2 separate regions of the Homo sapiens genome follow, and region 1 is linked to region 2. Evidence: promoter capture Hi-C in 16 types of primary human blood cells and fetal thymus (Javierre and others, 2016). All regions are on one chromosome and are shown on one strand. The core of a region is centred on a gene start or on the middle of the fragment in contact, and the rest is flanking DNA. Distances in the headings are between cores, read along the strand shown. Region 1 overlaps GRIK1 (glutamate ionotropic receptor kainate type subunit 1). Region 2 holds the start of LTN1 (listerin E3 ubiquitin protein ligase 1).

What was found. The method cuts DNA at HindIII sites, captures the fragments that hold promoters and counts their contacts. A CHiCAGO score of 5 or more calls a contact.
Region 1: a fragment that was not itself captured here is called in contact with the fragment with the promoter of LTN1 in region 2 in 1 of 17 cell types (M0 macrophages); the score reaches 5.1 in M0 macrophages.

What each region holds. Positions count from the first base shown.
Region 1 is chr21:29,638,946-29,642,339 of GRCh38, forward strand. The region is part of intron 7 of GRIK1 (glutamate ionotropic receptor kainate type subunit 1); the gene reads right to left. Among named protein-coding and RNA genes, the nearest start is that of GRIK1-AS3, 17 kb to the right of the region's middle. RefSeq lists an enhancer at 887-966. The HindIII fragment of the contact is 735 bases long and covers 1,026-1,760 here.
Region 2 is chr21:28,991,286-28,994,707 of GRCh38, forward strand. It overlaps LTN1 (listerin E3 ubiquitin protein ligase 1), which reads right to left and starts at 1,592. Exons shown (of 30, transcript NM_015565.3): 1 at 1,479-1,592. The coding sequence starts at 1,520. It overlaps LOC105372766 (a long non-coding RNA gene), which reads left to right and starts at 1,818. Exons shown (of 3, transcript XR_007067835.1): 1 at 1,818-1,846; 2 at 2,285-2,396; 3 at 2,497-2,896. RefSeq lists enhancers at 1,397-1,506, 1,817-1,876. The HindIII fragment of the contact is 7,723 bases long and covers 1-2,746 here.

The DNA of each region.
Region 1 (3,394 bases), core at 143-2,642, 650 kb after region 2:
AACAAGCTAAATGACTTGACTAAGTTCACACTGACAGCAAAGTGTGATGAAATCTCAGAATCTGTGTTCCCAGCACCAGAGTTAAATAGGTTGGTCTTTCCCTAAATCCCTGCCTCACTCTCCTATCGAAACCTATGGCCCTGGTGGACAGGTCTAGTCCAGCTCCTGACTCTGTCTTATTGAATTGTTTCTGGATATGATTTTTATGAACACAGTGTGTCCTGAAGCACTGCACATGCTTATAGATTGTGTGTGTTCTTCGGTTCCTTTGCTAATTCATTCATTAATTCATTCATCAATTCATTCACTTGTTTGGCATGTATTTATTGGGTGCTTATTCTATGTCCAGCATTGTGCAAGAACTAGGGAATTGAGACTGAAAACGCATAGCTTGGAGATAGACGTGGAAACAAACACAATAGCATACCCACAGTTGTAATGGAGGTACAAAGCCTACATCTGTGAGTCAGGGTCCTGCAGATAGGAGCTAGTGCTTGAGTTGAGACGTAAAGCATGACCCAGAGGAGCACGGCATTGCAATCAGAGTTAAAATAATTTGGTAGGAGCATATTGCATATTCAAGGGAGCCACAGTAGGTTCAGCAGGTGCTGCAGATGGAGCAGGAGATGAGAGAGCTGGCAAAGGGATCAGGAACAAGATCATGAGCCTGTATATCCTGCTGAAGAGTGTATGTTTTATCCTGAGGTATAAGAAAAAGCTTTAATGAAGCGTGTCAATCCTCTGCCATGTAGAATTTACATTACTAGGTGGCAGAAGCCACCTCTTCTACTTTTCAAGGGTGTTATCCCTTAAGATGCCAAGTTAATATTACTTATGTAGTGGAGTTCCAGTAATGCTTGTTGAGTGGGAATGTATAATCTCCTAGCATGCATTTGTTTAGCAAATGCTCGGAGAGCTAACATAGTAACATACTCTATCATGTTTCATATGTTCTTTAACTCTTCCCCTTTATCTAGTCAGCCCCATACACTGAAAGGCAGTGAGCTGGAAACATGTGTCTGAAAAGCTTACTGATTCCCAACAGTGTGTGGAGTTATCAGAAATTACCGCACATGCAACAACCTCTGCTCAGGAAGTTTACCTCCTGTGATGAATTTGGTCTTCACCCCATAAATTCAATCTGCTGACTTGCTTCTTTTCATTTTTTTTTTTCTGACTCTAGTTTTGGAACTTCTTTACAAAGTGAGAATAACTTAAAAAAAAAAAAGAAGCAGCGGGGGAAATTTGGGGACCAAGTTCCTTATTTCATGTTTCCTAATGAAACCTGATACTTGCAAAATTTTGTTCAGTTATGCACTCATCTGAAAAAACACGTGCACTTTCTCTTTTGCATGTTTTAGGTTGTCTCAGAATTTCCTCAGTGCCAGTCCTCCAGCAGGCTGAGGCATTGCTTCTGGTTACCCCATTCCATCTTCTCTGTAGGTACCTACACCCTGCCAAAGGTAGCATATGACATCCTGACTCAGGAGACAAAAGAGGATGAGCACAATGTTGACAATGGTTTCTGATTCATTCCCCCCTCCCTTCCTGTAACCCCTAACTGTGGAGATTAAAAATGAGAGATTTGCTTCTTTGGAGTGAATGAATATAAAATGCCTTCTTATTTTCAGTGTGGTCCCTCATCTTGGAGCTCATTATTTCTTTAAATATGCCTAAATGTGGCTTGGTAATTTCACCTTCTTATGCGACTTAAGTACAAGTGATAAGGTGTCTTGGGGGCTCTTGAGTGTTTGATCCCAAGCTTTCATGTCACTTCTGCCTCTCCTTGAACTTCTAGGAGATAAAAGAAAACCAGCTGTTTTCTTGTTAAAGATCAAGGTAATCAGGATGGCGATTCAGGACACAACCATGATCACTGCAGGGAAAAGGAGGTGGTGTGATGTTTTTCTATTAGGCACAGTGTGTCAGAGTTATGTAGCTGTCAGAAAAGGTATTTTGTTTCATGCCTATTTGTGATGTCTTTGTTGTTGTTGTTGTTGTTGCCAGTTTGAAATTCCTGGTATCATCTTCAGTAAACTGAATGAGGCTATTCTTAGTGGTGCCTTCCAATGGCAAGAGAATAGTATTTCAGATGCTTACTAGGTTTCTGAACTATTCTTCACAAGCATTTGCCTAATTCTTTATCCTTACAGTCATGCTGTGGGGTAGATGATACTATACCCATCTTATAGATAAGAAAACTGAGAGACAAGAAGTGTAAGTAACTTGCTGATATGGTTTTGGTGTGTCCCCACCCAAATCTCATCTCGAATTGTAGCTCCCACAATTCCCATGTGTTGTGGGAGGGACCCAGTAGCAGGTAATTGAATCATGGAGGCAAGTCTTCCCATGCTGTTCTCGTGATAGCGAATAAGTCTCATGAAATCTGATGGTTTTATAAATGGGATTTTCCCTGCACAAGTTTTCTCTTGCCTGCCACCATGTAGACATGCCTTTCACTTTCCGCCATGATTGTGAGGCCTCCTCAGCCACGTGGAACTGTGAGTCCATTAAACCTCTTTTTCTTTATAAATTACCCAGTCTCAGGTATGTCTTTATCAGCAGCATGAAAATGGACCAATAGACTTGCCCAGGTTATATTGCTCATCAGTGTTAGTGGAACTAAGATTTAAACCCATGCAGTCACTGCCAGGACTAGGATAAAGTAAGAGAGGTGCTCAGGGTACAAAATTTAAGCGAGAATTTCCTCTTAATCTTGTGCAAGTATAGAATACTCACCCAAGAATGAATGTTTCCTTAAATTGCACCCTCATCCTGGGCTTGCAAGCAACCTAGATTTGTAGCCTAGGTACTTAATCCTTATACATCCCGCCTGCTTTATCCTCACCCTCATGGATCAGAGTCAGCCTTTAGTTGCATTGAACAGACTGAGAGAGGGTGTGCAGGCATGGAAGAGACCAGCAGAGACACGAGTCCAAAGCAGGTGTCTTTCCTTACTCTTAGCTGGGTATTCTCCTGTGCCCTCCCTCTTCTTTACACTATATTTCCATCCTTCTCCAGTACAGAAAGGAAAAAAATACTCTTCACTTGAGAACTAAATGTCTGTATCCCATAGAGAAATATTAGAATAGCATCTCAGAGCATTGCGCATACTCAGGCCTAGCTACTCCAAAGAGCCTTATTTCTTATCATCAAGTCCAGACACACCCTGAGGTTCGTGGTGGAATGGATGATCATGCAGTGTACATATCGATAAGGAGTCACGGGGCTTAGAACAGGGCCTTGTGACAAGGAGTCAAACTGCCTCAGAGAAAAGAAAAGGTGGAGGACAGTCCAGGATCCCAGGACATCAGTGAAGATATCTATCCCTGCAAATACCCCATACTCTCAAAAATCTTTTATGTGCTCAGTAGGTTTTGAATGGGAATAAACT
Region 2 (3,422 bases), core at 342-2,841:
CTTACAAAAAAAAAAAAAAGAAAAAAGAGAACATTATTGGGATAACTACAGAAGTCTAAATACAAGGCTGTATCCTGGATTACAGTATTATACAAAAGTCAAAGTTTCTGCATACTATAACCATTATTATAATTGCTGCAGGCTAGAAAATGGCATTGTTTTTAGAAGATACATGCTGATGTATTTAGGAGTTAAGAGTCCCGACTTCTGCAACTAACTCTTATAAGTTCAGAAAAATACATAAATTAAGAGAGAGAAAGCAAATGCAACCAAGTATTAGCAATTGGTAAATGTAGGTAAAGAGTATATGGGATGTCGTTCTAATATTCTTGCAACTTTTCCTCATAAGAACTTTTCAAATATAAAACATTTGAGAAAATCTGTTAAATAAAAAACATTAAAAGATGCAAGTAAAGTGCTTAGCACAGTAACACAACAGGTTGCTATAATTGTTAATACTGTTATTATCTTCCAAAACAGATTAAGTGACAGATCTAAGAAAATGTGACATTGAAATCACTAGAATTAACTACATCAGAAACAGGAAAAAAAAGCATTCTCATAAAATTGGACTGTGCTATAATAAATCTAACACCATAAAAAAATACCATTACAAAACCCCTCATCGTGTAGTTTTACACGAATCCACTTTAAGGTCGTCCTTAAGCAAGTACTTAGTGAGCGTCTATTAGGTGCCAGTCTGTTCTAGGTTCCGAGGATAAAAACATTTGCTTTCAAAATACTTACGTCCTAGTGAACCAAGACAATAAATGTCATAAATACAATGGAGTAAAATAAAGTAGGAAGAACATGGGAGTGGGGAAGGGCTACCAAGAGGGTGATCATGGGAGACCTCACTGAGGTGTCGAGAGCAAAGTTTGGAGCCACCTAACTGAAGAGCGTTGGGAGCCGGCCAGGTAGTCAAGGCACAGTGAAGAGATCAGTGTGGCTGGATGAAGTAAGCCAAGAGGAGGGAGCTGAAGATGGGACTGCAGATGGAAAGGGGTAACAGGCAGTCCAGAAACCAAATATACCATCCTAAGAGCTTTAGCTTAGGAGAAGCCACTGTAGGTAGCAAAGGAGAGGCACAATCTGCGGTAACCTCCACAGTGGATTCACTTTAACATTCTCCCAACTCTCCTTCTTCCCAGCGCCGCCCTCCCCCAACCAACCCGCTACCTCGGCCAGATCACCTTCCAGTGAACCTGACACATTATCATTTCTTCATGAATATTATGGGTGTGTGCTCGGATGAGGACAGCTCTGGCATGGTACATCTTTTCTCTCACGATTCCCCAATCTGCTCAGAGATAACACAAACCGCTCTCAGGGACGCACACACAACAGAGAGGTCACACTCGACAGGGAAACACACGCCTCCCTACAGCCGCGCTCCACACACCCTCCAGCAACGCGCTGGGCGGAGCCAGCCGCCTCGAAGCGAGGCTCCCGGGTCGGCCGAGCCAGCCCCCGCTCACCCTCAGGTTCCCTTTAGTTCGCTGCTTGTTCTTCCCGCCCATGGTCGCGGTTGCAGCTGTACTCTGAGCACTCAGACCCCGGTTGACACGTCCGGGACACAACTTCCGGCTTCTGGCGGCGGAAGAGGACACCCTGTAATAACTTCCCCCGGGCCCTTTTCCGCCACCCACCCTGTCCATTTGCTGCCCCACTTCCGCTCCCGCCTCCCGCTGTGTCCCTGACCATCCGCCACCGGAGACGTCACAGCTAAAGCCACGCCTGTCTGAGTGATGTCATTCCTGGCCAATAGGAAGCCAAGCATTGGACCCGTGGCGCCAAATCCTGTCCTCCCCGCTTTCAGAAGCTAGGTTTGTTCCTTGCTTAGAGGGTAGGAAACTGGCGTGAATCATCAGAGGGGCAGTTTCACATAAGGGTAGCATTAGAATGTTATGGTAGAGGCTGTGGGAAGATGGGAGTGTTTTAGACTTCCAACATGATGCAATCATCAGTATCACCTGGGCGTTTTTTAGAAAAGGCCAACTCGGGCCCCTCAGAACTCCTGAATCAGATCCTGCATTTTGACAGTATTCCCAAGTCTTGTTAAAATTTGATTACTGCTGTAGGCACTATTCTCTCTAAATCTCCCCTCCCCGTCCCCTTTTATTCATATTGAAACTGTTAACGTGCAGTTTAGGAAAGAGGATAATGTGGGAGTCCCTATTAAAATTTGAAATGTACAAATCCTGTAACCCATTGATTGTGCGACTCAGAATCACACCAGAGAAACAAGTAAATGTGTGCTGGTTATTGTTTCTTGTCCACGCAGTCACCCTTTTATACTCAACTCCATGTTACTGGGGGGGCTTCTGCTAGATTCCACCAACAGGACGAACAAGAGGGAAACAAAGGCAAGAGGAAGAAGGGACTTGCTCCATTCTGTAAGCATCATGCCAGCAGCAGCTGCATTTTACCGTGGCAGGAGCAATTGCTTTAGCCAAAAGGTGGTTTTAATCTCTATCCTTTTTCCAACAATCACAGAATCAGCCTTATTGCACCCCTCAGAGATCACAGCAGCAGTCAGTGCTCTCCTCAGAGATCTGAATTCTACTTTCATGCGGCCCCTCCCCTGAGCTCCTGAGATAGCCAATGTTTGAGCCACCTCCTCAGAAGTTTGAGCCTCAACACCGTGGGATCCCTTCTTTGTGCTCCAGAGATCCAGTAACAGCCAGCCATCACCCTCTCTTCATTCTTCATAGGCCTGAACTAAGGTGTTCAGGGCCCTCCTTCAAGCTTTTAGGTTCTGATGACTCCAACCACTTCTTTTGTTCCATCCTTTCCTAGCTCTAGGAATGGTAGCTGCTACCTGCAGTGATTACCTGTTACCTTTTATAATTCCTTTTGACCAATTTCCCATATTAAAATATTTCTCAATAACTAATGTGATTTCTGTTTTCCTGACTGGACCCTGATTTTAAAATGCACACAAAAGCCAGGTGCAGTGGCTTATGCCTGTAATCCCACCACTGTGGGAGGCCGAGGCAGGTGGATCACCTGAAGTCAGGAGTTCGAGACCAGCCTGGCCAACATGGCAAAAACCCATCGCTACTAAAAATACGAAAATTAGCTGGGCAGTGGTGGCAGGTGCCTGCAATCCCAGCTACTTGGAAGGCTGAGGCACGAGAATCTCTTGAACCCGGGAGGCGAAGGTTGCAGTAAGCCAAGATCATGCCACTGCACTCCAGCCTGGGTGACAGAGCAGACTGTCTCAGAAAAAAGTCACACAAAGAGACATATTACAGGAGGTTCACAAAAACTTTATAATAGAAAGATAATTGTAAGCAACCTATGTCTATATATTGGAGAACTGCTAAATAAATTATATGTATTCAATAAGCTATTAGGCAACATTTAAGAAGAATAAGGTTTATCTGAACACACATAGGAAGAATTCTAAGACACATTCT